6 separate regions of the Homo sapiens genome follow, and regions 1, 2, 3, 5 and 6 are each linked to region 4. Evidence: promoter capture Hi-C in 16 types of primary human blood cells and fetal thymus (Javierre and others, 2016). All regions are on one chromosome and are shown on one strand. The core of a region is centred on a gene start or on the middle of the fragment in contact, and the rest is flanking DNA. Distances in the headings are between cores, read along the strand shown. Region 1 overlaps FOXO1 (forkhead box O1). Region 2 has its middle 92 kb from the start of NHLRC3. Region 3 overlaps LOC105370169 (a long non-coding RNA gene). Region 4 holds the start of COG6 (component of oligomeric golgi complex 6). Region 5 overlaps NHLRC3 (NHL repeat containing 3). Region 6 overlaps LOC105370169 (a long non-coding RNA gene).

What was found. Contacts are between HindIII fragments. The CHiCAGO score rates a contact against its expected background, and 5 or more counts as called.
Region 1: a contact is called between a fragment that was not itself captured here and the fragment with the promoter of COG6 in region 4, in 1 of 17 cell types (fetal thymus). The highest score is 5.4, in fetal thymus.
Region 2: a fragment that was not itself captured here is called in contact with the fragment with the promoter of COG6 in region 4 in 2 of 17 cell types (endothelial precursors and M2 macrophages); the score reaches 5.6 in endothelial precursors.
Region 3: a fragment that was not itself captured here is called in contact with the fragment with the promoter of COG6 in region 4 in 8 of 17 cell types (megakaryocytes, M1 macrophages, M2 macrophages and 5 more); the score reaches 8.2 in megakaryocytes.
Region 5: a contact is called between a fragment that was not itself captured here and the fragment with the promoter of COG6 in region 4, in 14 of 17 cell types (megakaryocytes, erythroblasts, M0 macrophages and 11 more). The highest score is 11.1, in megakaryocytes.
Region 6: a fragment that was not itself captured here is called in contact with the fragment with the promoter of COG6 in region 4 in 1 of 17 cell types (endothelial precursors); the score reaches 6.4 in endothelial precursors.

The regions. Positions count from the first base shown.
Region 1 is chr13:40,650,807-40,655,102 of GRCh38, forward strand. The region is part of intron 1 of FOXO1 (forkhead box O1); the gene reads right to left. Among named protein-coding and RNA genes, the nearest start is that of FOXO1, 14 kb to the right of the region's middle. RefSeq lists enhancers at 909-1,430, 1,431-1,951. The HindIII fragment of the contact is 898 bases long and covers 1,172-2,069 here.
Region 2 is chr13:39,128,821-39,132,948 of GRCh38, forward strand. No RefSeq gene overlaps it. Among named protein-coding and RNA genes, the nearest start is that of NHLRC3, 92 kb to the left of the region's middle. RefSeq lists an enhancer at 1,466-1,987. The HindIII fragment of the contact is 3,061 bases long and covers 1,102-4,128 here.
Region 3 is chr13:39,060,566-39,064,996 of GRCh38, forward strand. All of the region lies in intron 1 of LOC105370169 (a long non-coding RNA gene), which reads left to right. Among named protein-coding and RNA genes, the nearest start is that of NHLRC3, 24 kb to the left of the region's middle. The HindIII fragment of the contact is 5,224 bases long and covers 1-4,431 here.
Region 4 is chr13:39,652,777-39,657,397 of GRCh38, forward strand. COG6 (component of oligomeric golgi complex 6) reads left to right here and starts at 2,886. Exons shown (of 19, transcript NM_020751.3): 1 at 2,886-3,103. The coding sequence starts at 2,951. RefSeq lists a silencer at 3,150-3,199. The HindIII fragment of the contact is 8,496 bases long and covers 1-4,621 here.
Region 5 is chr13:39,044,373-39,048,840 of GRCh38, forward strand. It overlaps NHLRC3 (NHL repeat containing 3), which reads left to right. Exons shown (of 7, transcript NM_001012754.4): 6 at 2,668-2,780; 7 at 3,302-4,468. The coding sequence ends at 3,554. Among named protein-coding and RNA genes, the nearest start is that of NHLRC3, 8.2 kb to the left of the region's middle. The HindIII fragment of the contact is 2,116 bases long and covers 320-2,435 here.
Region 6 is chr13:39,077,918-39,082,507 of GRCh38, forward strand. It overlaps LOC105370169 (a long non-coding RNA gene), which reads left to right. Exons shown (of 5, transcript NR_187783.1): 2 at 3,343-3,446; 3 at 4,524-4,590. Among named protein-coding and RNA genes, the nearest start is that of NHLRC3, 42 kb to the left of the region's middle. The HindIII fragment of the contact is 227 bases long and covers 2,281-2,507 here.

The DNA.
Region 1 (4,296 bases), core at 371-2,870, 1.0 Mb after region 4:
TGCAGTGGCGCAATCTTGGCTCACTGCAACCTCTGCCTCCTGGATTCAAGCAATTGTCCTGCCTCAGCCTCCCGAGTAGCTGGGACTACAGGCATGCACCACCATGCCCAGCTAATTTGTGTATTTTTAGTAGAGACTGGGTTTCACCACGTTAGCCAGGCTGATCTCAAACTCCTAACCTCAAGTGATCTGCTGACTTCAAGTGATCCGCCAACCTCAGCCTCCCAAAGTGCTGGGGTTACAGGTGTGAGCCACCACGCACTGCCTAGTTTTTTTGGTTTTTTGTTTTTTGTTTTTTGTTTTTGTTTTTTTTTAAGAAACATGGTCCCAGTGTGTTGCCCAGCCTGGACTTGAACTCCTGGGCTCAAGGGATCCTCTGGCCTCAGCCTTGCGAATAGACAAGACTACAGGCACACAGTACTCTCTCTGCCTGGATGGACTCTGCTTCCTTTTTATAAAAAGTACGTTCTAGGTACAGTTCAGAACACTGAAAGTATCAAAATGGCACTTCAAGAAATACAAAGCACCTTAAAGAAATACCCAGAATTACTGGAATATAATTCCCTAGGAGAACCACTACAGAGCACAGAGGTCACAGCAGGGAAAGTATCCACTCCAAAACCAGAAAAGAGGATATCAATAACATCAAAACATGCCTAATTACAGGAATCTTTAACCCTGATAAATTTCCTTAGTATGAATTTTTTTAATTATACCAAATAACTTCAAGAGAGGAAAAAATAAAACATTTTGATGACCTCTAAAATGTAGTCATCAACTGCTAAATGTTTAAAAATAGTGTTTTATCATCATCAGAAAGACTTCATGTTAATACAAATACATGACATACAAATATACATCTAAATATACATTATATTTATAACATAAATATACATCTAAATATACATCATATTTATAATATAAATATAAGATTATAAATAAATTCAGGTCCTACAAAATTCATTCTATCTCAAAATTTCACAAATTCAACAAACTGCTCCAGGCACACCGGTAACAGAAGAGACTGGGAGTATGGGAATCTTTCAAATTCAACGTATGTAAATGTCATAATGGGCCACTGAAGAGAAAATTAAATCCTAAAAGGTTGAAGGGGAGAGACCAATTCAGTCATACAGATTGAAGAACTCTCAGGGTAGGATGATCCACAGGAAGCTTTCCCATTCACCACATGTAAATTTCATGATGGCCTACATACCTACCCATCCAGAGAGAAAAGTTTCCAATGCAACCAGCTTGGTGCCAAGTACACAAACAACCCCAATCGATATTTACAAGTTTTGCAAGTTCCCCTCTCCTCCCTCCCCACTCCCCGTTTAGGAGGTAGCCCTGCAGAGAGAGAGTTCTGCTGCAAACAGATGAGGTAACTGTAATTCAAGAGAGCCCACTTTCTCCTGTATTCAAATCACAGTATAGTATGAATGATGGCAGGCTGAAACCTACTGGTGTAACAAACTGGTGATTCTTTTTTTTTTTTTTTTTTGAGTTGGAGTCTCTGTCGCCCAGGCTGGAGTGTAGCGGCAAGATCTCCGCTCACTGCAACCTCTGGCTCCCCAGGGTCCGCCAACACGCCTGGCTAATTTTTGCATTTTTAGTAAACACGAGGTTTCGCCATGTGGCCCAGGCTGGTATCGAACTCCTAACCTCAGGTTATCCACCCGCCTAGGCCTCCCAAAGTACTGGGATTACAGGCGTGAGCCACCGTGCCGGCCCAAACTGATGATTCTGCAAATTAAACCTCACAGCTCATGAAGGCACATCATCTCTGATACAAAATTATGGTGACTGAACATGCCTATCTTGATGTTACTTATGCAACTCTATCCTGAAGGTTAGAGAAGAGAAAAAACCTTTTTCATGTCAAAATAGAACAATAAAATCCACATTGTGACCGTTACTACCTCAAGAATCTGCCAAAATAAGAGCTTCTAGCTAAACCATATGCAAACCATTTCCTTTGACCTTGCTTCCAAGCAACCAAAATGTCTCAAGTATTTGACGTTTACTTGTATGAACCACTCCCAAATATTTATGTGGTTATTTTGCTTTCAAGCTTTGAAGGACACAACATTTACAAGCCTGGGAATTAGGTGATTCAATTATAATTTCTCTTTCCAAACTAAATTTGAAATCTAAGTGCATTTCTCTTTTTTTTTTTCTTCAAGACAAGAGTATTGCTCTGTCGCCCAGGCTGGAGTGCAGTGGCACAATCTCGGCTCACTGTAACCTCCACCTCCTGGGTTCAAGCCATTCTCCTGCCTCAGCCTCCCGAGTAGCTGGGATTACAGACACGCACCACCACGCCTGGCTAATTTTTGTGTTTTTAGTAGAGGCAGGGTTTCACCATGTTGCCAGGCTTGTCTCGAACTCCTAACCTCATGATCCACCCGCTTCAGCCTCCCAAATTGCTGACATTACAGGCACGAGCCACCACGCCCAGCCTCTAAATGCATTTCTTTTCAGGTACAGAATGCAGGGTGCCTTTTCACTCTCACCCTTGCCACTGCTGCAAGATGAAGACCCTCTCATTCTGTGCTGGGGATTCCTCACTCAAAGAGGGGTTTTCGCTCAGCCACTTGCATGGCAGGCTTCTGAGCCTGGTACCCGCAGAGGAAATGCACTAATTTTTTAATTAAAAAAGGAAAACCAATATGAAAGGAGAGGGCCGAAACACTGAGGAGACAAAGCCCAGTGCCTCCCGGCCTCAGCTAACTCTTCAGAATACCAAACCATTGAAGAAATCTTTATCTTCCCACATAATGCAAACTGGTTTCCCTCTTCCTCCTTTCCTCATTAGGCCCAAATAAGACTTAGGAGGATTAATCATGCGCATTGGCTTTTTTACTGCAGTTACAAAATACAACCACAGAGGTTCCCTCCCTTTCCTGATGCCAGGTTCACTTGGCTACTTTCAGATTTTTAACTGAGCAAAAACCCAGCCCCTCACCAGTAAGTACTTTGTAAGTACTCACCAGTACTTACAAAGGCAGTACTATAACACCTTCAAGATGGGGAAACCACGGTTTTAAACAGAAACACATATTTTCCCTCAACATGGATGCTTTATCATATCTCTAACATAGTAAGAGTAGAGAGTCACAAAACCATGACCTATATTTTCCAGACTGTTAGAACAGCAATTGAGAAAAACTGTTTATCCAAGAAATATCTTTAATGAAACAAAAAAGAACAAAAGCATACAAGGGAAGCCCTCTCTTCCACCCTCTTTCTCATCACAGTTTTGCCCTTATCAGATAAGACAGGTAGGGGTTCCAGGGCTGTTAAGCTCATGGGGTATATCATTAGGACCAGCTCTGTAACTGGAACTGCTCAAAGAATGAATGACATCTTTATTAAGACAAACATCATCTGACCAGGCTCGGTGGCTCATGCCTGTAATCTCAGCACTTTGGGAGGCTGAGGTGGGCAGGTCACAAGGTCAGGAGTTCAAGACCAGCCTAGCCAAGACAGTGAAACCTCATCTCTACTAAAAATACTAAAAAAAAAAAAAAAAAAAAAAAAAAAAAATTAGCCAGGCGTGGTGGTGGCCGCCTGTAATCCCAGCTACTCAGGAGGCTGAGACGGAGAACTACTTGAACTCTGGAGGCGGAGGTTGCAGTGAACCGAGATGGTGTCACTGCACTCCAGCCTGGGCGACAGAGCGAGACTCTGTCACAAAAAAAAAAAAAAAGAAGAAAAAGAAAAAGACAAACATCATCTAGGGAGAAAAATACATCAACGCAGAAAAAAAAGATTTTCTTTTTAGGTCTCGAAGATCTGTATACAAGATGCTGGAACCAAGTCACACTGAAAAAGTTGACAGCCTGGAAATTTCTATATGTGGCTGGCCAGAGATGTATAAAGAATACAGTGGGGCTTACTGGAGATAACAGCACTTCCCAGATGAGGGGTGCTGCAGTGTAGACCAAGGGGCCACGACACTTTAGAGGTGGTACTGGCCTCTGAGAAGGCAGAGGTCTCTAAGAATTAAAGAACTCCTATGACTTAAGGTCAGCAGAGATAGGCTATCTTGAAAGAAATGATCTACCTCCCTTCCCTGAGGGAGATAAGAACCCTCAGGGAACCCTCCCTTCAAAATTAGAACCAAGATGAGAATGAAGTTGAAGGATGAAGATGTTTTATATAATATCTTTACTTACAAAAATTAAAAGACCAAAGATGTGCTGTAATTCTGAACTTCACTGGATCTACAAACATCAATAGTGGTCGGCAGGGCGTGGGGGCTCATGCCAGTGATCCCAGCACTTTGGGAGGCCA
Region 2 (4,128 bases), core at 1,382-3,881, 520 kb before region 4:
AATGTTTTCAAAATATTTTCTTAATTTTGTGGTACTGAAGGCATTTTCTTTTGGAAACTCACTGATCTGTTTATACAGAGAATAAACTGCAACATATCTAGAAGTCTAGCCAGTGCATATACAGCCTTTTAATCAATCCATATTTGTTTAGCTCAGTACTTTACTATCTGCTCTGCCTCATCTTAAGTTCTGGGAATCTCAGAGGCCCTATAGGAGCAAATCAGACAATTCTTCTAGTCTCCTACAGCACTTGAGCTTTCTTCTAAGTTCTTTCTACTCCTATTTTGCCTTTCCTTCTTCCAAAAATCTGTTGATATTTCTCACCTGCTATGTCTCTGGTTATTTTGGTTTGTACTTAAATCTTTTTCTCTACATTTATTTAAGTGAAATCTTGTGAAGGAAGGGAGACAATTATATGGGCTGGTTTACCATGTTTAATCAGGAGCCTCTGCAGATTTGGATGTTGACAAGATCACGCTTGTAGCAACGTGGAACAGAAATAGGGAAGGCAAAACAAAGGCAGAGGGAGCGTTTGGGAGGCTCCCCCTGCTCCCGTTCACAGTGAGCTGCTGGAGCACACACGCTGCATTCAATGCCTCTGCATTTCCCATCTGGTCATTTTTCAACTCACTTCAGTCTGGCTTCTGTCACCATCTGTCCTATTGAATCTGCCATGGTCAAATTTACCGGTAACTTCCTGGTTGCTCAGTAGAGTAGACAACTATTAGTCTTTATCTCTGTTGGCTCACTGTCCACCTTTTCTTTGGATTCTCTCCCTTTTGGGTTTTTATGCTTTCTCTCCACTTTAATTTTTGTTGTTGTTGTTGAATCTTTCACACCCCTGCTCCCTGTATCCTTTTCTATCATTAAATGTTGAAGTGATCTAATGTTCTACCATTTGCCAACTTATATTACACTCTCCACTCTCCTTTGATTTATTTTCAGCCCATTTTCCTTTCCTAGGGTAGAGATTGTTTTTGTATCCACACACACACACATGCACACACACACACACACACACACACACACACACCTCTACTAAGACATCATTTTGATTTTCCACAGGCACATCAAACTCAGTACATTCAAAACTAAAAACTAAGCTTATTTCCTCACCTGATTTGCTTTTCCTTCTTTATTCCCCGTTATCGTAAGTGATCTCCCCATCTCCTGTGCTTTCTATTCTCTCATCCCTCACAAATTCATTAAATTTTGTTGCTTTTTCCTCCCTAAATCTCTCAAACGTTTTTCACTCTTCTTTAATCCTAAAGCCAAGGCCTTAGTTCAGGTCCATGTCACATCCCTACCTAATTCATGTGACAGACCTAACTTATTCAACTGCCTTCATTCTACCTCCACTCCAATAATTTCCCTATAGTTCACAATGCCACAAAAGTTTCATGAAACATGTCTAATCACATCACTCTTGTTTTGTCTTGGTTATCCAAGACAACTTGTTACACACAAAAGAATCCCAAAACTTAGTTACTTAACACAATAAGAAACATTTACTAATCTCATTGTTTTCATGCATCAGGACTTTGGGCGTTGCTTAGCTGGGTATTTCTGGCTAAAGGTCTTTTACGAGATTGCAATGAAGCTGTCACGTGGGGCTGCAGTCATCTAACGGCTTGAATGGAGCTGGAAAATCCACCTCCAAGGTGGCTCCCTCCTGTAGCTGGCGACTTGATGCTGGCTATTGAAGGAGGCCTTTGTTCCTCACCACATGGTCCTCTCTTAGCCTGCTTGAGTGTTCTCACAGCATGACACTGGCTTTCTCTGCAGCGAGCACCCAGGAGAGAAAGAGCCATGCCGAAGCCAACCTTTTTATGACTTAGCCTCAGAAGTCACGTAGCATCACTTTGTGCCACATTCTGTTCGTTAGAAGTGAGTCATTAAGTTTGGTTCACATTCAAGGGTTGGGGAATTAGGAACCACCTTTGGAGGACTGTGAAAAAATTCACTGACATATTTTAAGACCATCCCACATTCTAAAAATCTTTCAATGTCTTTTACAATATTCCTACCACTTTCTTTATTTCCTTATCCTTCAGCTCTGCAAAACTGCTCACAGTTGTATAAACTTGCTGTGATTTTTTTCTGTGCCTATGCCTTGTACATACCATCCCCTTTGCTTGGAATATCTTTTTTACTTCTTTACCAAGCTAACTTCTACTCATCCTTCAAAATCCTAACGTAAACGTAAACCCCGGCATAAATATTTTCAAATATTTCCTGATTCTGCACCCCCACTGCTTGTTTTCTACCAATTAGACTTAATAGAGAGCACACCTTTTTTTCCACTTATTTGAATATTTCTTTTTAGCCAGATCTATAAGGTTGGGCTAGTATCTTTCAGCTCTATATCGTCATTGCTTAGTACAGTTTCTGCCACATTTGTAGATACTGAGAATTTATAAAACAAAGATGTGAGTTCATTAATATTAGTGCCTAGCCCCCACAAAAGCTCAGCAAATGAACAAAATAAATACTAAGGACTTTAACCAAGTCAGTGATAGTAGGTATGAGAGAGGAGGAAGAATTTAAGAAAAATGCAGTGACTGGATCCAGGAAGAGAGAGAGAGAAGAAAGAATCAGGATGATTCAGTGGTATCTAATTGAGCTATTAAGTTAATTAAAAAATAAGAGTCAATTACAGGGGAGAGATGATCATGAATTCAGTCTGAAGATGCAGGTTTTAGAATTCCTGTTATTCTTCTAGAGAATTTCCTCAGAGGCCTTAGAAAAAGGGTCTGAAAGTCAGGAGAAAGATTACACCAGAGATAAATGTGAGAAACACTATCTATACCTCCCTCATTACTTTCATTGTCCTGTATATAGAAAGGACCATAAAAGGTGGGAAAAATATTGTCAAGGAAAGAGATAGAATAAATTACCTTCCTTAAGGTTACAAAGGTAGGGCAAAAGTTGATATGGTTGACTATTGCCTTCCACCCGTGGGGTCACTCATGCCAGATATTCTGGCCAACTCTAGGCACCCTTCTCCCCAGCATTGTTCATGAACTACTGAGGCAAATTACCAGCCACTCCCTACTCTAATGTAGTGTGGATCAGAGATTGTTACAATTTTCAACTGCTATGTCTATGTGCTGAAGCTCAATTCAATTTTATTCATAATTCTATGGCACCACTTAGAATTGTTGTTGATAAACCAATCAGTATGTTGGCTTGCCTAGATTCTAAATGCATCTTAAGTTATGTATTATTAATCTAAAAATTAAAATGTTAGTTTTTTCAACCTGAGAAATAAAACTATTCTCTAGAAGTAATTGAAGTTACTTTTTCTATAATCAATAACCTCTTCAATTAGCATAAATATAGGTAAAAGAGAAGAATGGGTTTCTAAGTTATGCATTTTTGAAAATTAGTCGTTTTCAGCCATCATCTCATGAATAATTAGGGTAATTCGCAAGCCAATTTTAGGAGAAAATGACTTTTTAAGGCAATTCATTTTTTTTTCCACTCAGTATTTTTTTCCAAACCTTGTTTGTTTTTTAAACTTGGAATGCATTTGAGAAAGTTTTCAGATTCTATTTCCCTCTGAAGAGCCTCTCTGCAGAACCTCGAAGAGAGATCAGCCTTTGAATCATCTCAGCAGTTGTAAAAGGAGTCAGCCATGTAAGCCAGAATGAGTCATATCAAAGCACCTTTGATCATTTTATTAGCTATTCACTCTTTCAAGAGCTAGGACAGGAGATTATAATAGATGTCTTGCTTTCAATGTGTGCTTCTTCTGCCATTACTTCTCAGCTGCCAGTAGAGAGGGCTGAAAGCAGATGGCAGCCAGGAGAAGTTTGTCTCCAGCTTCATGTGGAGCATTTCAACTACAGAGTGGCTTTAGGCAAGCAGGGGTGTTTCTGTCTATGTCTCTGTCTGACCTCCTCAGTCCATGCCTCATGGAAGAAGCAGCTCTACAGCACATATCCCAGTGAGTTATGTGTTCTCATAAAAACATACTGCAATTCACAAAGCTATCAACTCTTAGTCATGAAACAAAAATACCTGTCAAGAGTTTTATTTTAACGTGTTAATGACACCACAAATAGAGGACAATGCCATCATTTCAGGGGACAGTTTTACACAGCAGGCCTCTTCCAGAGCATTCAG
Region 3 (4,431 bases), core at 1,178-3,677, 590 kb before region 4:
ATGTTCAAGGTTAATGTTGATATGTAAGGATTTGATCCTGTCATTTTGTTATTAATTGGTTGTTTTGTAGACTCAATTATGTAATTGCTTTGTAGGATCTGTTGTGTATGTACTTAAGTGTGTTTTTGTGGTATCAGATATTGTTCTTTCCTTTCCACATTTAGAACTCTCTCCTTAAGTACCTCTTGTAAGGCAGGTCTGGTGGTAATGAATTCCCTTAGTCTTTACATGTTTGAAAAGGATTTCATTTCTCCTTTGCATGTGAATCATAATTTGGCAGGATATAAAATTCTTGGTTGGAATTTCTTTTCTTTAAGGATGCTAAATATACATCCCCAGTCTCTCCTGGCTTGTAAAGTTTCTGCTGAGAACTCTGCTGTTAGCCTGATGGGGTTCCCTTTGTAAGTGACTTGGCCTTTTTCCCTAGCCACCTTTATGATTTTTTTTTTCCTGTTGACTTTGGAGAATCTGATGACTGTGTGTCTTTGGGATGGTTGTCTTGTATAATATCTTGCAGGTGTTCTCTGGATTTCTGGAATTTGCATGTCTACCTCTCTAGTGAGATTGGGGAAATTTCTGTGGACTATATCCTCAAATATGTTTTCCAAGTTGCTTACTCTCTCTTTTTCTCTCTCAGGAATGCCAATGAGTTGTAGAGAAAGTTTGTTTCTTTCTTTAAAAATTACTATGTCATCTCTCCTGGACCATTTTACTGGCTTCCTTGGATTGAGTTTAAACTTTCTCCTGAATCTCATTGAGCTTTTTTGCCCTTCAGATTCTGAATTCTATGTCTGTCATCTCTCTCAGCCATTTCAGTCTGGTAGGGAACCAGACATTGCTGGGGAGCTAGTGCAATCATTTAGAGGTAAGGAGATGCTCTGACTTTTGAATCATCAGAGTTCTTGGGCTGATTCTTTCTCATATGAGAGGGCTGGTGTTGCCTTATCATTTTGAAATGGCTGTTGTTTGGATGGGGCTATTTGTTTTTATATTCTTTATTTCCCTTGAGGGTTTGACTGGAGTATGCTGCCTATAGTCGATTGACTTCATTCCTGGGTGCTTTCAGAGGGTCAAGGCTCTGTGCGGGATCTTTCTTTGTGGCTAGATTCCTGCATTGGGTTTCACTGGTGATGTATGGTGAAAGAATTTATGTTTGGTGGTTTAATTAAGGCTGTGATCTAGTACGTGGCACTTAAGAGTAAGGGCAAATAAAAAACATTTTTAATTAAAAAAATTTGTTAAAAAAGAAAAAGCATGATGTAAGCTGATAAAAAAGACTATTTTTTGAAAAGAGTAAGGGCTGGTAGATAGGCTCTTAGTCACACGCCTCTTATATTTTGGTGCATTCGCAGCAGTACTCTGGGGTGAGTTAGACGGGGGTTGGCAAGAGATAACCTCACCAAATCCATTCCTGGGTCTTGGAGAGCCCCCTCCAGTCACTGGTGCCATGCTTACATTTTCTTAGTCCCAAAGTGGGGTGCTGGTAGGCTGTGTTCTCCCTTCCCTTAGTGTCACCCAAGCCAAAGTTTAGGTCACCAGGAGACCCGCAGGTCCTTGGGGACCCACTGGTCCTCTGTGCTTGGCAGAGTCAGAGCAGGTTGTGGGATATGTCAACAGGTGCCCCCTTGATGCAGTAGGTCAAGGGTGAGGATCCCTGGGCAGGGCAGTGTTGCTGTGGGTATGCAGCTGGTGTGGTGACTGCAGCTTGGGTTTTTTTTCCTAGCAGATGGCTGTGGGGACCATTCCACTCGTGCTCCCACAACGGGATCTCCTTACGGTGTCTATCCTAGTAGCTGGCATGACCAGCTAGTTTTGTCTCACTCCACCTGCACACAGATTGCTGGGCTGTTGGTTGTTCTGGGCCATGGGGCTCCTTCTGGCAGAGGCTTTGGCTGACAAACAGGCTACACCTTTCCCTGGCTGGTCTTGCAGAGGGAAGCACGTTCTGCTCCTGCTCCAGCCCACAAACCCACACCTTATACTTCTCAGTGTTTGGAGAGTAGGGGCTCTTACCCCAATCTAGCTCTGGCCATAGATCTCAGTTGGATATTCCTCAGCTGTGTGTCCGAACTCTGGGGGATTGGGACTGGACCTGTGGCTTTGTCCTCTGACCTCTTAGGGTTGAGCACAGGCTATGCAGGGGGGCCGAAGTGCTCCCAGGCCACCAGCAAAGCACTCAGGAGGGGCAGTGGAAGCTGTGCTATGTGTATGCTTTTGTGGGAGCAGCCAGCCGGAAGACTTGGGAGGGGCTGGCAGAGAAGGGGGCGTGGCAGATTAGAGTCACCCTGGTCCCATGGGAAAGATAGCCCTGCTCTCTCCTGGCCTTGGCAGTCAGCAGAGGTTAGAGCCACAGGGAGATGGTTGTTGATGGTCGTGTTTTGCTGTAGCTGCCCCCCGCAAAACCTTCTGGGCTCCGTGCAGGCTCAAACTCTGCCTCTGTCTACTCTCTGGGCAGCTCCCCTTGCCAATCCAAATATCTGTAAGGGTGGTGGGAGCTCTTGCAGCTAGGATCTTGGAGGTCCACAGCAGGAGAGTGTTGCCTTGCAGTTCTTTCACTCACCCCTTCCTCAAGACCTGTTTAAGGTCTGGAGCTGGTCCCAGTGCTTGGCAACTCCATGTAGGGTTCCCAACTTCCTCCCTCTTCCACCTCAATGTCTGTATCACCCTTCTGTCAGCACTCAGTTTTTCCACTCAAGAGATCTGTTTGAAACGTGATGGTTTACCTGATATTTTGGTTTCTCTTGGTGGGAGAGGCACTTCCTAGTTGCATCAAGTCAGACATCTTGTCCCCCTCCCTCCACAAAATATTTTCTATTTTCATTCCATGGATCCTTGTCAGTGAAACAAAACAACATATCTTAAACAAAAATGTAATATAACAGAAAGAAATGTTCACTTTTTTATGTGATGAAAAGTCAAGAATGACGTAAAAAGGTGATGAGGTATTTAAATCAGTAACTCAGTAAGCATTCATATTTGGCACGCACACCACGGACTGGATGCCTAGTTTTCAGCTCTCCAATAGAAGTGATGGTGATAATATATCATATATTTCATATCTTATACATATATGTCATATGCTGTATCTCTGCTGTTCAATAGGGTAGCCTCTAGCTCATATGGTTTTAGACACTTGAAATGTAGCTTGTGTGTCTGAGGAACTGAATTTTCTACCATATTTCTAATTAATTTAAATTGTCTCATGTGGCTATTGGCTACTATATTGGATAGCTTAGTAGGTGACTAGATTTTCATAATGATGATAAATCATTTGTTTTCACTGAATTCCCCTGTTCATTTGTGTAATTTGCCTTCTGCCAACCCTTTAATGTAATGTATTATCCAATGTGACCTTCATGCTTAGAAATTTGGAGTTCTGGGTGTTTGGATTTTACATTTTTTTGTGTGTGTGGATGTGAGCCCAAGGGGATGGCAGCAGATGGGGAAGATCAGGAATTTCTAAAAAGTCATTTTGGATCCAAACCAAACTGAGTTTCTGAACTACCATGCCAGACTATAAACAACACACATCTTTACCTACTCAGTCCCTATTGAGGTAATTTTAACCAAGAAAAAATTAAGAGAAGGTGGTGTCTTCTACACACTTTGCTTTTACAAGGTGACCTAATTTTGAGTAACACCCAGACTGAGTTAGCTACAAAAATGTAGGTAACTGAACAAATCACCCTACGAATGAGTTATTCAGTATTTTTTTTTTCATTTGAACTTTAGAAAAAAATCTCCTCCCTCTTTTTCAGTAGGTTTTGTTTTGGCATGATTAATATTGGACTCCTTATTCTTGAGTAATTATAAAACATTTAGTTGTTTCTGTAGTCGCTTCTTATATCTGATTGTAAAGCCACGTTATCAGGCTTGAGGAGGAGAAAGTTTATTCCTTTTATTTTTTTTTAACAGATGCCCCATGCCAGGCAGTGAGGTTTTTTGGCTTTATTTTTTAATTTTGGTAAAAACCAAATAATATATAATTTACCATCTTAACCATTTTTAAGTATACAGGTCAGTAGTGTTAACAGTATTCACATTGTTGAATAGCAGATAGCTAGAACTCTTTCATCTTTACAAACTGAAACTCTATATTCATAGAACAACTCCCTATTCCCCCTCCCTGCATTCCCTGTCAGCCACAATTCTACTATTTCCATGATTTTGACTACTCTAGATATTACATATAAGTGTAATCATACAGTATTTGTCCTTTTGTGACTGGCTTATTTCACTTAGCATATAAGGTTCATCCATGTTGTAGAATATAACAGGATTTTCTTATTTTAAAAAGATGAATAATATTCTACTGTATATATATGCCAATTATTTTTTATCCATTCATCTGTCGACGGACATTTGGGCTGCTTTTGCCTCTTGGCTATTGTGAATAATGCTACAGTGAACATGGGTGTGCAAACATTTCTT
Region 4 (4,621 bases), core at 1,636-4,135:
ATCAAATTAAGATTAATTGTGCTTCAAAGGATGCCATTGAGAAAGTGAAAAGACAAGCAAAAGTAGGAAAAAATATTTTCCAATAAATTGTTAGGACTAGTATCCAGAATATATAAAGAATTCTTACAACTCAATATCACTAGTCACTAGGAAATGGAAAGCCAAATCTCAATGAGGTATCATATCACACTGAGTAGGATGGATAAGATAAAAAAGACAGACCATAATGAGTGTTAGTCAGGATGTGAAGAATACTGGAGCCCCTCATACAGTGCTGGTGGGAATGAAAAATGGGGCAGTCACTTCGGAAAACTATTTGACAGTTTCTCAAAACATTAAACATAGAGTTAACCATAAGAACAATCTACTCCTAGGTATCTTCCTAAGGAAAGTGAAAACATACATCCACACAAAAACTCTCACATGAAAATTCACAGAGACATTTTTCATAAAAGCCAAAAATTTGAAACTACCTAAATAGCCATCTGACGAATGAATAAAATATGGGAGATCCATACAATGGATTATTATTTGGCAATAATAGGGAATGAAACACTGATACAAGCTACAAAATAGATGAACCTTGAAAAATTATGCTAAGTGAAAGAAGTCAGGCATGAAATGTTACATATTGTATAATTCTGTTTATATGAAATGTCCAAACTGGCATATCTATAGAGACAGAGAGCAGATTTGTGGTTTCCTAGGGTGGTAGAGAGGGGAAAATGGGGAGTGCTAGTGGGTACAGTTTTCTTCTTAAAGTAATGAAAATGTCTTAAAATTAGATGATGGTGATATTTGCCAACTCTGTAAATGAACTAAAAGCTGTCATATTTTATACTTTTAATAGGTGAAGTTTATGGCCTGTAAATTATATCTAAATAAAGATTTTAAAAATTAATATAAATTTGTATTTTTTATTACTTAAACATTTTGTCTATTTATCTCCAATTTACTTTTTAAAATAAACAGCTTTATTTTTTTTTTTTCAATTTTAAGATAGGGCCTTGCTCCATCACCCAGGCTAGAGTAGAGGGCAGTGGCATGATTATGACTTACCGCAGGCTTGAGCTCAAGTGATACTCCCACCTCAACCTTCCAAGTAGCTGGGACCACAGGCATGCCACCACACTCGACTAGTTTTCGTATTTTTTTTTTTTTTTTTGTAGAGACAGGGTCTCGCTATGTTGCCCAGGCTGGTCTTTAACTCCTGAACTCGAGATCCCCCTGCCTAAGCCTCCCAAAGTGCTGGGAATACAGGTGTGAGCCACCATACCTGGCCTAAAAAACAGATTTGAGATGAAACTTGCATGCCATTCAATTCATTCATTTAAAGTGTACAGTTCAGTGTTTTTTAGTATATTTACAGAGTTGTGCAACCATCACCACAATTTAGCTTTAGAGTATTTTCATCTCCCCAAAAATTAACCTGTACCATGAACTGACACTCCCCATTCCCTCTTCCCAACACTCCTCTTCCCAGAACCACTCATCTACTTTCTATCTCTATTGATTTACCTATTTGGGAGATTTCACATAAAGAGGTCATACAATATGTGGTATTTCATGACCGCTCCTGACTTGGCATGTTATCATCGTCATTCCTTTTAATTGTACATATTTGCAAGCTCTACATTATATTATTGCTTTGTATATATGCAAATTCATTTGGATATATACACCTTAGGTAAACCTTTGATATTTTAATTTTGGTTACACTGAACTTAAATTTATCTGTGAAAGAGAAAAGACATCTTACAATATTGAGTCTTCCTGTTGAAGAGAACAATATATTTTTTCATTGATTTAAGTTTTATGTTCTCCCAGTAGCATTTTAAAGTTTTCTTCATCTAGGTTCTCTGTATTTTTTGTTGAATTCATACCTAGATATTGCTGCTTTTTGTATATTTTTTTCTTTTGGATAGTTGGGCCTTCTCTTCTTCATTAGAGTAGAGATGAGTGGTTTTGTCAGTGCTTTCTTTATGTGACCTCTGTAATAGGTAATTTTCCCTTAAGTCTGATATACAATATAACTATGTACATAGACATATATGAAACAAGGAAAATTTATGACAAGAGCCAAATAGTGTTTCTGACAAATAATTCACAGAAGCCCAGCGATTTTATTTTGATCCAAATTTTAAAAACTGAGAAAAGAAAGAAAAAAAGCAATGATGTTTGTTTTCCAGAGTTTCCCGGGAAGTTTTTTCAACTTGTTACATTTTTATCCATTACTTTACAGCTACATGGGCTCTGGTCCATTTGTGTCAGGGCCAAGTTCATCTTGTTTTGAGGCCTGTACACTTACACACTTTCTTCTGCCTGGGAATGATTTCTCCTCACATTCTGATTCTCCTTCAAATCTCAGTTTAAGTGTCAACTCCTCTCCAAACCTCCCTGAGTGAAGTGGGCCTTTCCCTCCATTTTCTTTCACTGTACTACTTCATCCCCTGAGCACTCATCACAACCTAATAACATCTATTAACAGCTTTGTCTGTTTCAGACACACAATGTAGATTCTCCAATGCCTACCAGAGTACCTGGCACATACTATGCCTTCAATAAATAATTTTCAAAAAAATGAATTCAGATAAGGCAAATGTAATTTAAACTTTCAGTTAACTTATATTGAATGTATATGCCAGGCACAAGTCATGGTGTATTTTACATACTACATTTGGTTGTCATCTAATTAGCTCTGAAGGTCGCAGATCCATAATTCCAAAGTCCTCTCTAATCCTATAAATTTTCTCCTTCTACCTGAGGGTCTTGTCCCGCCCCCCACATCTTCTCCGCCCCTCACGCTTCTGAGAGCCCAAGCAGGGTTACCCGGCGAAGACTTCCGGGGCCGATGCGCATGCGCGGCCGATTTGCACATGCGCAATACTCGCGCTGCCTCCGTGGTCCCTGCCTGGCTGAGGTGGCAGCAGGGGGCGGGACGCGCAGCGCTATGGCAGAGGGCAGCGGGGAAGTGGTCGCAGTGTCTGCGACCGGGGCTGCCAACGGCCTCAACAATGGGGCAGGCGGGACCTCGGCGACGACCTGCAACCCGCTGTCGCGCAAGCTGCATAAGATCCTGGAGACGCGGCTGGACAACGACAAGGTAACCGGGGCTGGCGGGGCCGGAGTCACAGGTTCCTGCGGGGCTGAGCCGGGCCAGGGGCGGCGTCTGTCAGGGACCCACCGCGGTCTCCCTCGTCCCGGCAGCAGAGGGACCGCGAGTGACCCCAGACCTGCGGGCTCCGCTGCTCTGCGGGCGCCGGGGGCGGTGAGAAGGGGGAGCCCCAGCAACCTCCGGAAAAGCGAAGGGGTTTCCTGGGTGTTCTCTCCACCTGAAAAGGTGCCTTCAAGGCTCTCTGGATGGGATTGGTGAACGGTGGTGCCTCGAGAAGTGTCCTCCAAACACCCCTGGAGGCGTTTGGCTGTGTGAGCTGGGAGAGTGGAGGAGAGCACAAGACTGGATATGAAACAGATGCAAAAGAGCAGATTCCAAGATAAGGTAGCGCAAATGGGGGTCGGGAGACCAAGAGAGCAGTGGTAGGGATAAGGGTGCATTTCCACGGACAAGTGACAACAATTGCAATAATTTGCAGCGCGAAAGAACTACCTTTGCCCGTGGCTGAAATGAACTCATATCTACTAGTTTTTGTTGAGCCAAGCGCTATGATTTGTGGGCTCAGGCTGTATTTCTTTAGAAGATAAACTGACAGCATGCTCTCACAAGTACCTCCTGAAACTTAAGTTGGACTTTACAGCTCCTCACATACCCAGCCATCTCTTCTGTCTCTGTGGGTCGCTAGGTAAATTGGTCATGACAGTGTAACATAAAGAAGAACATATGTCAAAGTTAGAGAGTTTTATAGGTGAATATGTAGGTAACTGAAAATAAGCTGTCGATAACAATTTGATTCCGATATGTAAAAAAATAACATTGCAATGTAATGAATAAGAAATTAGGGCTCTGGAGACTACCACTTATTAGATAGAACCACTAAATGTGTGCATCATGATTTGAGTAAGTCCCTTCACTAATCTCAGCTTCTGTTTAGGAATTAGGAATCCTGCTGTTAAGTTTCTCATGGTTGTTATTTGAGGACTCAGTGAGAGACTCCAGGTAAAGTCCTTTGCAAAGAGCCTGGCACTTACTCTTTCTTAACAAATATTAATTTTATCATAAAATTTATGAAGTGTTTAATGTGTCTCATATTGATATTTATTATATCATTTAAGACTGCTACTTGCTCTGATATAGATAACATGGCCTTCTTTTTTGGACAGAGTTTTGCTCTTTTTGCCCAAGCTGGAGTGCAATGGGCGCAGTCTCGGCTCACTGCAACCTCTGCCTCCCGGGTTCAAGCGATTCTCCTGCCTCAGCCTCCCAAGTAGCTGGGATTACAGGCATGTGCCACCACGCCTGGCTAATTTTGTATTTTTATTAGAGACGGGGTTTCTCCATGTTGGTCAGGCTGGTCTTGAACTCCTGACCTCAGGTGATCTGCCCGCCTCAGCCTCCCAAAGTGCTGGGATTACAAGGCGTGAACCACTGCGCCCGGCCACATAACCTTCTTTTTACCATGAGGAAAATAAAGCATGGAGAGAGTGCAGCTAGGTTGTCATATAA
Region 5 (4,468 bases), core at 128-2,627, 610 kb before region 4:
CACATACTTTCTTACAAGTGTTTGAGTCCTATAGTGAGGGGGTTCCCCAAACATTTAGAAAGGAGCAAAATGGATTTCCTGTACCATTTAAAAGGATAGAAGGCACAAATAATGGATCTGAACATAAAGTTACCTGAAAGAAAAAGTTGCCCTCTTACTGGGAAAACTCCACTAAAAGTGTTTGAATATCTTTTCACTTCTCAAGAAAAAAATGTGCTGATCTAAAGTGGAGTGGGAGAGGTTAACCTTGGAAGTCTGAAAAAGAGTCACCTAGGCAAACTCTTGTTCTCACTAACTCCACATTGTTTAGGGAACAGAAAGCTTTAGCCAACAAATTTCAATCAGTTTCTCTCTTTTCTACCCTACTCACTACTATCTCTTTTGCATTTACTCAATTTCTAAGCATAGATCTCACTTCTTTGAGGTTACCTTTTCACAACGAAACCGCCACCAAAAAATTTGTATATTAGTTTCTCCTGCTCTTTTCCTATAGCAGCCTGTACTTCGTATCATAGTAACTATCATGCTATATTATAATCATTTGTCTGTCTCCCCTAATAGATGTCAGGCTGTTGAAAGTGCTTACTGAATCTCTTTTGCTTTATTTCTTTGTGCCTAGTACACAGTAGTCATATTTATTTATTAAATGACTAAATGTCTTGACACACAATGGGTACATTAGGCTACTTGCCTTCATACCATTAGGCATTTAATCCATTTCTACTTCTGATTCAGTGCTCAGCAAACAAACTTCTAATTATGACTTGGCTTCCTAATCATAATTGATTGACAAAAATGAGAATGTTTTGATCATTAAATCTTCTGATCTGCCATAAGACGTTAATCAACCATGTGAACTTTGTATATAAATTGGGAACTGGAAACTTTGAATTAAACTTTTGCACATTATCCTCCTGAGCTTGGGTGACTCATTGTGTGCTAAGAAAAAAAATCAAATTTCAGAACATGCGAGACCTCGACCCAGGTAAATTCATCATGGTGAGGAACGCCCTTCTAAAAGGCCTTGGAAATCATCTGATGGGGGTACTCTGGCATTCCTGAGTGATAAAGAGTGTCAATTATACAAAATTGTGTTTTATAACAATAGCAATTCTGTTCTGAGCATTTTACATAATTAATTCATTTAATCATCACCACAACCCTATATGAAAGGTTAGTCAGTTCCAGACTTGTTGTTATGTGTTAAACAGGAGTTCCCATAATCAAAATTCATTGAGTGTTGAGCAGGACAGATGATGCTAACAATCTAAAGTATCATTCCATCCTAGGGTGTAAACTATACTTCTTCCTTGGTCATTTGTCTGGGATACTAGTCTCAAACTCTTTAAGAAAACCTATCCTTACTAAAGGACCATAGATCAGGAAAAGACCTTGAGAAATTGCTTTACTTTGGCATCAACAACCTTTCTTAAATGGTGTAGTGAGTTTTGATTTGTTTCTGATTGGAGATTAATTCAATGGCTACCAAAATTCACACATATTGATGAAGCTGTAATCAGGGTTACCTGTGAAGAAATTATCTCTCAATCCACAAACCCAAGAAATCCAAAGGACCAAAAGCAGGGAGGTAGAAGTAAAGAGGACTGACCCACTCCCAGTCCATTCTTTCATACCTCTCTACAACCCTGGCCACAAGTCATCAAAAACCATTTCCTGCCGGGTGCGGTGGCTCACGCTTGTAATCCCAGCACTTTGGGAGGCCAAGGTGGGCAGATCACGAGGTCAGGAGATCGAGACCATGGTGAAACCCCATCTCTACTAAAAATACAAAAAAATTAGCCGGGCGTGGTGGCGGGCGCCTGTAGTCTCAGCTACTCGGAGAGGCTGAGGCAGGAGAATGGCGTGTACCCGGGAGGCGGAGCTTGCAGTGAGCCGAGACTGCGCCACTGCACTCCAGCCTGGGTGACAGAGCGAGACTCCATCTCAAAAAATAAAAAAAACCATTTCCCTTTATGCTTTAAGCTGCATGCATGTGGCCATGAAATGTCATTTAGAATGCATCTCACTTCTTGTCTTAGAACAAGTTCCTTAATAACCCATTACAGCCTATAACAAACCTAAATTAAACCTATTACTGTTCTTTATTTGTTGCTAAAATACCTCAGGCTTCTTCAGTTGGTTCAGCACTCTGTACATACCTTGGTAATAGCAGGTATGGGTTTAATGATACTGCAATCTGAATGAATACCTCACATCCTGCTATATTGAGCTCTTGAGAAGTAAGGCTGCTTTTCTTTGTCATGTTGCCTGGCCCAGGAGCTGACAAGCCAGTAGTACTCATTGAAAAATGAATGCTTGTTAGAGGAATGAATGAATGTTGTCAGTTTTCATTATCTACTGATCCCCTGCATTATGGTAGAGTACTCCAGCTTTTTAGTTATTCACACATTTAGAACAGTAGACAGAGTATTATAAGCTTTGGGTTAAGACAGCTTTGGGTTGTGCCTCTCCCATTTGTAAGCTCACTTCAGAGACGGCAACCTTTCTGAACTTTAGTTTTTCCTCATCTGAAAATGGGACTTAACTACCTTCTTTGGAATCCTCTTAAGTGAGATAATGTATGGTGAAACTAATGAAAATAAACATTCTTTTCCCTTTTTTCTTCTCATGGATATTTTTCAATTGACATTTTTGTGTGTTTCTCAGGTGTGGGTTGCTGACCGAGGAAATAAAAGAATCCAAGTATTTGATAAAGACACTGGGGAGTGGTTAGGAGCATGGAATAATTGTTTCACAGAAGAGGGACCTTCTTCAGTCAGGTAATTGTTTCATTTTATTGCAAAATGCTTGTTTTAGTTAGTGTATGTGTCTCACTTCCTCTGAATAGCTAGCTGAAAGTTTAAAATATTTATTGTTAATTTTGAATTAGGGGAAAATAGAAATATACAGAGAAATTTGATATCCAAGATTTTCAGATGCCAGGTAAAGTGAAAACAAGAAATAACATATGCTAGACCTCTCCTCTAGCCTTTATTTGGTAAATGTTTAAACAGGACAAAAATCAAACCCAGCCTAACATCAATTCTTCATTAATTTCATTTTGTGGACTATGATATTGATACTTTTAACAAATTTAAGCTAATCTTTGGCTTTGCTTACCATCATGGACATCTTATTCCTTCATAAACAGAATTAGATCAAATTAAAATTCTTCTTAAAAGAATCATTCAGCAAGTAGGTGCCTACTGTTGTTTGGCACAGTAGGGGATTAAAATGTTGAAAAAAAATACCCTTATGTTTTTTCACAGACATTTATTATGTTAAATGTCTTTCTCCTTAGGTTTACTCCTGATGGGAAGTACTTGATTGTGGCCCAGCTGAATCTTAGCAGGCTCTCAGTCGTAGCAGCACCCCCAGTGGGAAGCATTGGGGAGTGTTCTGTGATCAGCACAATCCAACTAGCAGATCAAGTTTTGCCACATCTCCTAGAAGTCGACAGAAAGACTGGAGCAGTCTATGTAGCAGAAATTGGAGCAAAACAAGTACAAAAATATGTCCCTTTGAATAGCTATGTTCCTTCATTTGGTTCATAATGTTTCTTTCCTGGGAATATTTCAAGTGGCAGTTCAGATTCTCAATTCACTAAGTGCTTAAAAATGATGTTCAAGCACAAGAATTTATTTTTCTAGTATAAAAGATCTAGTATCAGAAAGATTTGTTTTTGTATCATTAAGAATCTTATATTTTGTTGCCCTCTTGGGACTTAGTTTTATTTGTAAGTGCATAAGGATATTTTAATGAAAGGAAAGTAACTAAAAAATGGGGTTGGGAAGAGGGACTAAGGTGGTAACCTCATTATTTGCCCTGGTAGACTGATTCTCCCTGGGTAAAAAAAATGGGAATAAAAATGAGCTTGCATGATAATTTATTAAATTTCATGTGAAGAACTCCAGACCTCCAGATTGTGCAACTAACATAAAATGAGCTGCTTGAGAGATTGTAAATAAGATGAACTATTGATTAATTTGAGTACCCACAGAGTGCTGTGTCTTGACGACTTAAAAATGAAAAAGCAGGATTGCCTTTTGAGTAGCTTGCAGTCTAGTGGGGAGACAAGCAGGCAAACAGTCACAACACAGCAAAAGCGACCTTGGAGCATAGTGGGACTTTTGGAGTAGGAGTGCTGCATTTGACTGAGGGAATCATGGATACTTCGCAGGAGAAGTGAATTTGAGCTCAGACTTGAAAACTGAGGAGGAGCTTACCAAGGGACAAGGAGGAGAAAACAATAATTTCCAAGTAAAGAAGGTATAAAAAGTTAGAAGTGTACTGTAAACTTTGATAGGCTTTTAGGCCTTTTTTAAAGCCCAACTTGGCTTCTGTCCATTACCTATAAGATATTTAATGTCAGTCAGCCTTTAAATGTAGGAATAAAATGGCTGGCATCTAAGCACTTTAGTAAAAGAGGTTTTTACAAATAACTAAGGATTGTAGAGCTTCCTTCTCT
Region 6 (4,590 bases), core at 1,144-3,643, 580 kb before region 4:
TGGGAAAGCATCCCATGCTCATGGGTTGAAAACATCAATATTGTTAAAATGTCCATACTATACAATGGAATCTCCAGATTCAAAGCTATTTCTATCAAATTACCAAGACAATCCTTCACAGAATTAGAAAACTATTCTAAAATTTATATGAAACTGAAAAAGAGCCTGAATAGCCAAAGCAATTTTAAGCAAAAAAAATAAAACCAGAGGCATCATATTACCCAACTTCAAACAATACTACAAGGCTACCTTAACCAAAACAGCATGGTACTGGTACAAATATAGACACATAGACCAATGGAACAGAAGGGGACCCCTGAAATAAAGCCACACCTTTATAATCAGCTGATTTTTGAACAAAGTTGACAAAAGTAAACAATGGAGAAAGGACACCCTATTTATTAAATGGTGCTGGGAAAACTGGCTAACCACTTGCAGAAGAATGAAACTGGACTCCTACTTCTCACCATTTACAAAAATTACCTCAAGATGGAATGAAGACTTTAATGTAAGACCTCAAACTATAAAAATCCTAGAAGAAAACCTAAGAAATACTCTTCTGGCTTAGGCAAATAATGTATGACTAAGTCCTTGAAAGCAATTGCAAAACAAAAATTGACAAGTGGGACTTAATTAAGCTAAAGAGCTACTGCACAGCAAAATAAACTATCAATTGAGTAAACAGACAATCTACAGAATAGGAGAAAATATTCGCAAATGATGTACCTGACAAAAGACTAATACCCAGAATCTGTAAGGAAGTTAAACAACTAAACAAGTAAAAACCAAATAACCCCATTAAAAAGTGGGCAAAAGATATGAATAGACACTTCTCAAAAGAAGGCATACAAGTGGCCAAAAAATATATGAAAAGAAAGCTCAGCATCACTAATCATCAGAGAAATGGAAATCAGAACCACAATGGAACACCATCTTAGACCAGTCAGAATGGCTATTATTAAAAAGTCAAAGAAATAACAGATGTTGGCAGCGTTGTGGAGAAAAGAGAATGCTTATACACAGTTGATGGGAATGAAAATTTGTTCATCTCCTATGGAAAGCACTTTAGATATTTCTCAAAGAACTAGAAATAGAATTACCATTTGACCTAGCAATCTCATTACTGGGTATATGCGCAAAGGAAAAGAAAGTGTTCTACCAAAAAGAAACCTGCATTTGAATGTTTATCACAGCACTGTTTACAATAGCAAAGACCTGGAATCAACTCAGGTGCTCATCAATTGTGGATTAGATAAAGAAAATGTGGTGTATATATATATACCATGGAATACTATGCAGCCATAAAACCTCATGAAGTCATGTCCTTTGCAGCCACATGGATATAGCTGGAGGCCATCACCCTAAGTGAATTAACACAGAAATAGAAAAACAAATGCCACATGTTCTCACTTATGGGTGGGAACCAAACATTGGGTTCACAAAGATGGGAACAATAAACACTGGGGATTCCAAAAGTTGGAGGAAGTGAGGGGGACAAGTGTTGAAGAAGTACCTATCAAGAACTATGTTCACCACTTGGGTGATGGGATGCCCAAACCTCGGTGTCATGCAATTTGTCCAGGTAACAAATCTGTACATATTTCCCCTGAATCTAAAATAAAAAATAAAATGCATAAAAATAAAAAACTTCTTCTAAAGTTTTAAGTATTGTTTAAAGCAATACTTAAACAATGTATTGATGTATTTATATAATATGTAGATGTAAAAAATATAACAAAAATATCACAAAAGATGATATGGTGAAATGAAAACATGTTTTAAGGATATGAGAAGAGGTATATTATTTGAAAGTAGATCCTGACAACTTACAGAGTAATATTTTAAATTCTAGTGCAGCCATTTGAAAATGAAATAAAATGTATTTGTGATAAATCAGTAGAAGAAGGTAAAATGCTACACAAATTGTCAATTCCAAAAGAAGACTGGAAAAGAGGGGGAAAAGGAAAAAGAACAGATAGGGCAAATAGAAAACAGCATTATGTTAGACTTAAACCCAGTCGTATTAAATATGACATTAAATGTAAGTGGTTTAAATACCCCAATGAAAAATTAGTGACTGTCATACTGGATAAAAGTGAAAGAGCAAATTAATTATATTCAGTATACAAAAGATGAACTTTACATATAAAGAAAAGATAGTTCGACATAAAATGATGTAAAGATATATGCTATTACAAAAGTAGTTAGAAGAAAGCTGAAGTAATTGTATTATCAACGTAGACTACAGAACAAGAAATATTATCAGAGATAAAGAGAGAAAGCTTATAATGATAAAAGGATGAAGTGTTAGGAGGACCTAAGAATCAAAATGTGTATATAACTAATAATGCTTCAGAAATACATTAAAGGGAAAAATGACAAATAAAAGAAAAATCAAATCCATACTCATAGTTGGAAATTTAAACACCCATCTCTCAGCAATCTATAAAACAACTAGACAAAAGGAAAACTTAATAAATATGTAAGTGATCTGAACAATATTATCAAGCTTGACCAAAATGATATCTATAGAACATTGTATCCAAAAAAACTGCAGGATACATATTCTTTTCAAATGCATATGGAATAGTCATTAAGATAGAGCACATGCTGAGGCATAATACAAGTCTCAATAAATTTAAAATATTTGGAAGCATACAGAATATGCTTGTAATTTAATTAGAATTAGATTAGAAGTCAATAATAAAATAACATCTGAAAAATTACCAAATATTTGGAAAGTAAATATTACATTTGTAAATAACTCATGTGTCAGAGAAAAAAAGTCACAAAAGGAATAAGAAAATATCGTGAAGTAAATGAAAATACAGCACTTCAAAATATGTGAATCGCAATTAAAACAGTGCTTAGAAAGATAAAGCTATAAATATTTGTGCAAGAAAAGAAGAAAAATTAAAATCAGTGGTCGGCTGCTCTGCCTATGGAGTGGCCATTCCTTTACCTTCTTATTAAGCTTGTTCACTTTGGGAGGCCGAGGCGGGCGGATCATGAGATCAAGAGATTGAGACCATTCTGGCCAACATGGTGAAACCCTGTCTCTACTAAAAATACGAAACTTAGCTGGGCGTGGTTGTGTGCGCCCATAGTCCCAGCTACTCAAGAGGCTGAGGCAGGAGAATCGCTTGAACCCAGGAGGCAGAGGTTGCAGCGAGCCGAGATCGCACCACTGCACTCCAGCCTGGCAACAAAGCGAGACTCAGTCTCAAAAAAAAAAAAAAAAAAAAAAAAAAAAAAAAAGTTTGTTTTTACTTTACTCTATGGACTCGCCTCAAATTCTTTCTTGCACAAGAACTGAGAACCCTCTCTTGGGATCTGGATCAGGACCCCTTTCTGGTAACATCTTCCTGGCAAACCCCAAAGGGATGATACTGAGGAGACTTCTGACCCAAAGGAAATGGACTGGAGCACCAATTGGCTAACTTTGGGTAAGTAGTGGTGTACCCGGGTGAAAAACGGGATAGAGTTAGAGGCCCAACTTAGGAGAGTTAGAATCTCTCCTAAGATGGAGTGGGTTAAAGGCCTCTCTTAATAAAAGGCAAGGATGCATGACTGAAGTTGGATTTGAGGCCTAACTTAGCAGGGTTAGAGTCCCTTCTAAGATGTAGGGGGTGTGAGGCCCCTCCCAGTAAAGTTCCTCCTGGCTAAGAACGGATTTGATACTATGGGGTGTTAACTGCCATTCTCTTTGGATTAATCTGCCTTGCACTCTTTGCTGATGGCTATGGGTGACATAATTAGGCACGTACAGGATCATGGGACATGGGGAGCTTTTTCCTCCCCAAACAGGGACACTTAAGAGCTAATGGGACTGCTGAAAAAGATCCCTTCTTGACTGACAAGCAGCCACCTGAACTTTTGATTCAGTGTTGCTGGGATGGGTGGGTCTTTCTCTGGCCTCCCTGAGCTCTTCGCTGTCCCCAGCCTACCACAGGCAATGCTTTTCTCTCTTTCTCTCCTTTCCCTTTCTTTCTTTCTTCTTTCTTTTTTTTTTTTTTTTTTTGAGATGCAGCTCGCTGTCACCCAGGCTGGAGTTCAGTGGCGCGATCTTGGCTCACTGCAACCTCTGCCTCCTGGGTTCAAGCAATTCTCCTGCCTCAGCCTCCTGAGTAGCTGGGATTACAGGCACGCACCACCATGCCCAGCTAATTTTTGTGTTTTTAGCAGAGACGGGATTTCCATGTTGGTCAGGCTGGTCTCGAGCTCCTGACCTTGTAATCTGCACACCTCGGCCTCCCAAAGTGCTGGGATTACAGGCGTGAGCCACCACGCCTGGCCCCCTTTCTTATATTTTCTATTACTCAGGGTGACCATCTTGCCCAGAGACCACATGTTGAAACTCCTTGTCGGAGGTTGGATTGATGATGACCCAGCCCAACCAGGGGCAAGTTTGAGCCTTGCCAGTGTGATATTGGGTGCTAAGCAGAGTGGTTAATGTCTATGTTTTGTCACACGTATTTTGCTCTGGCCAGAATGGAAAAAGATAATTTTCCTTTGTGTTGCAGCTTGGCCCCCAGTGCTATGGTGCACTGAGCTGGGTTACTAGGGCCACTTAGGAAAAGGGAACCCAGA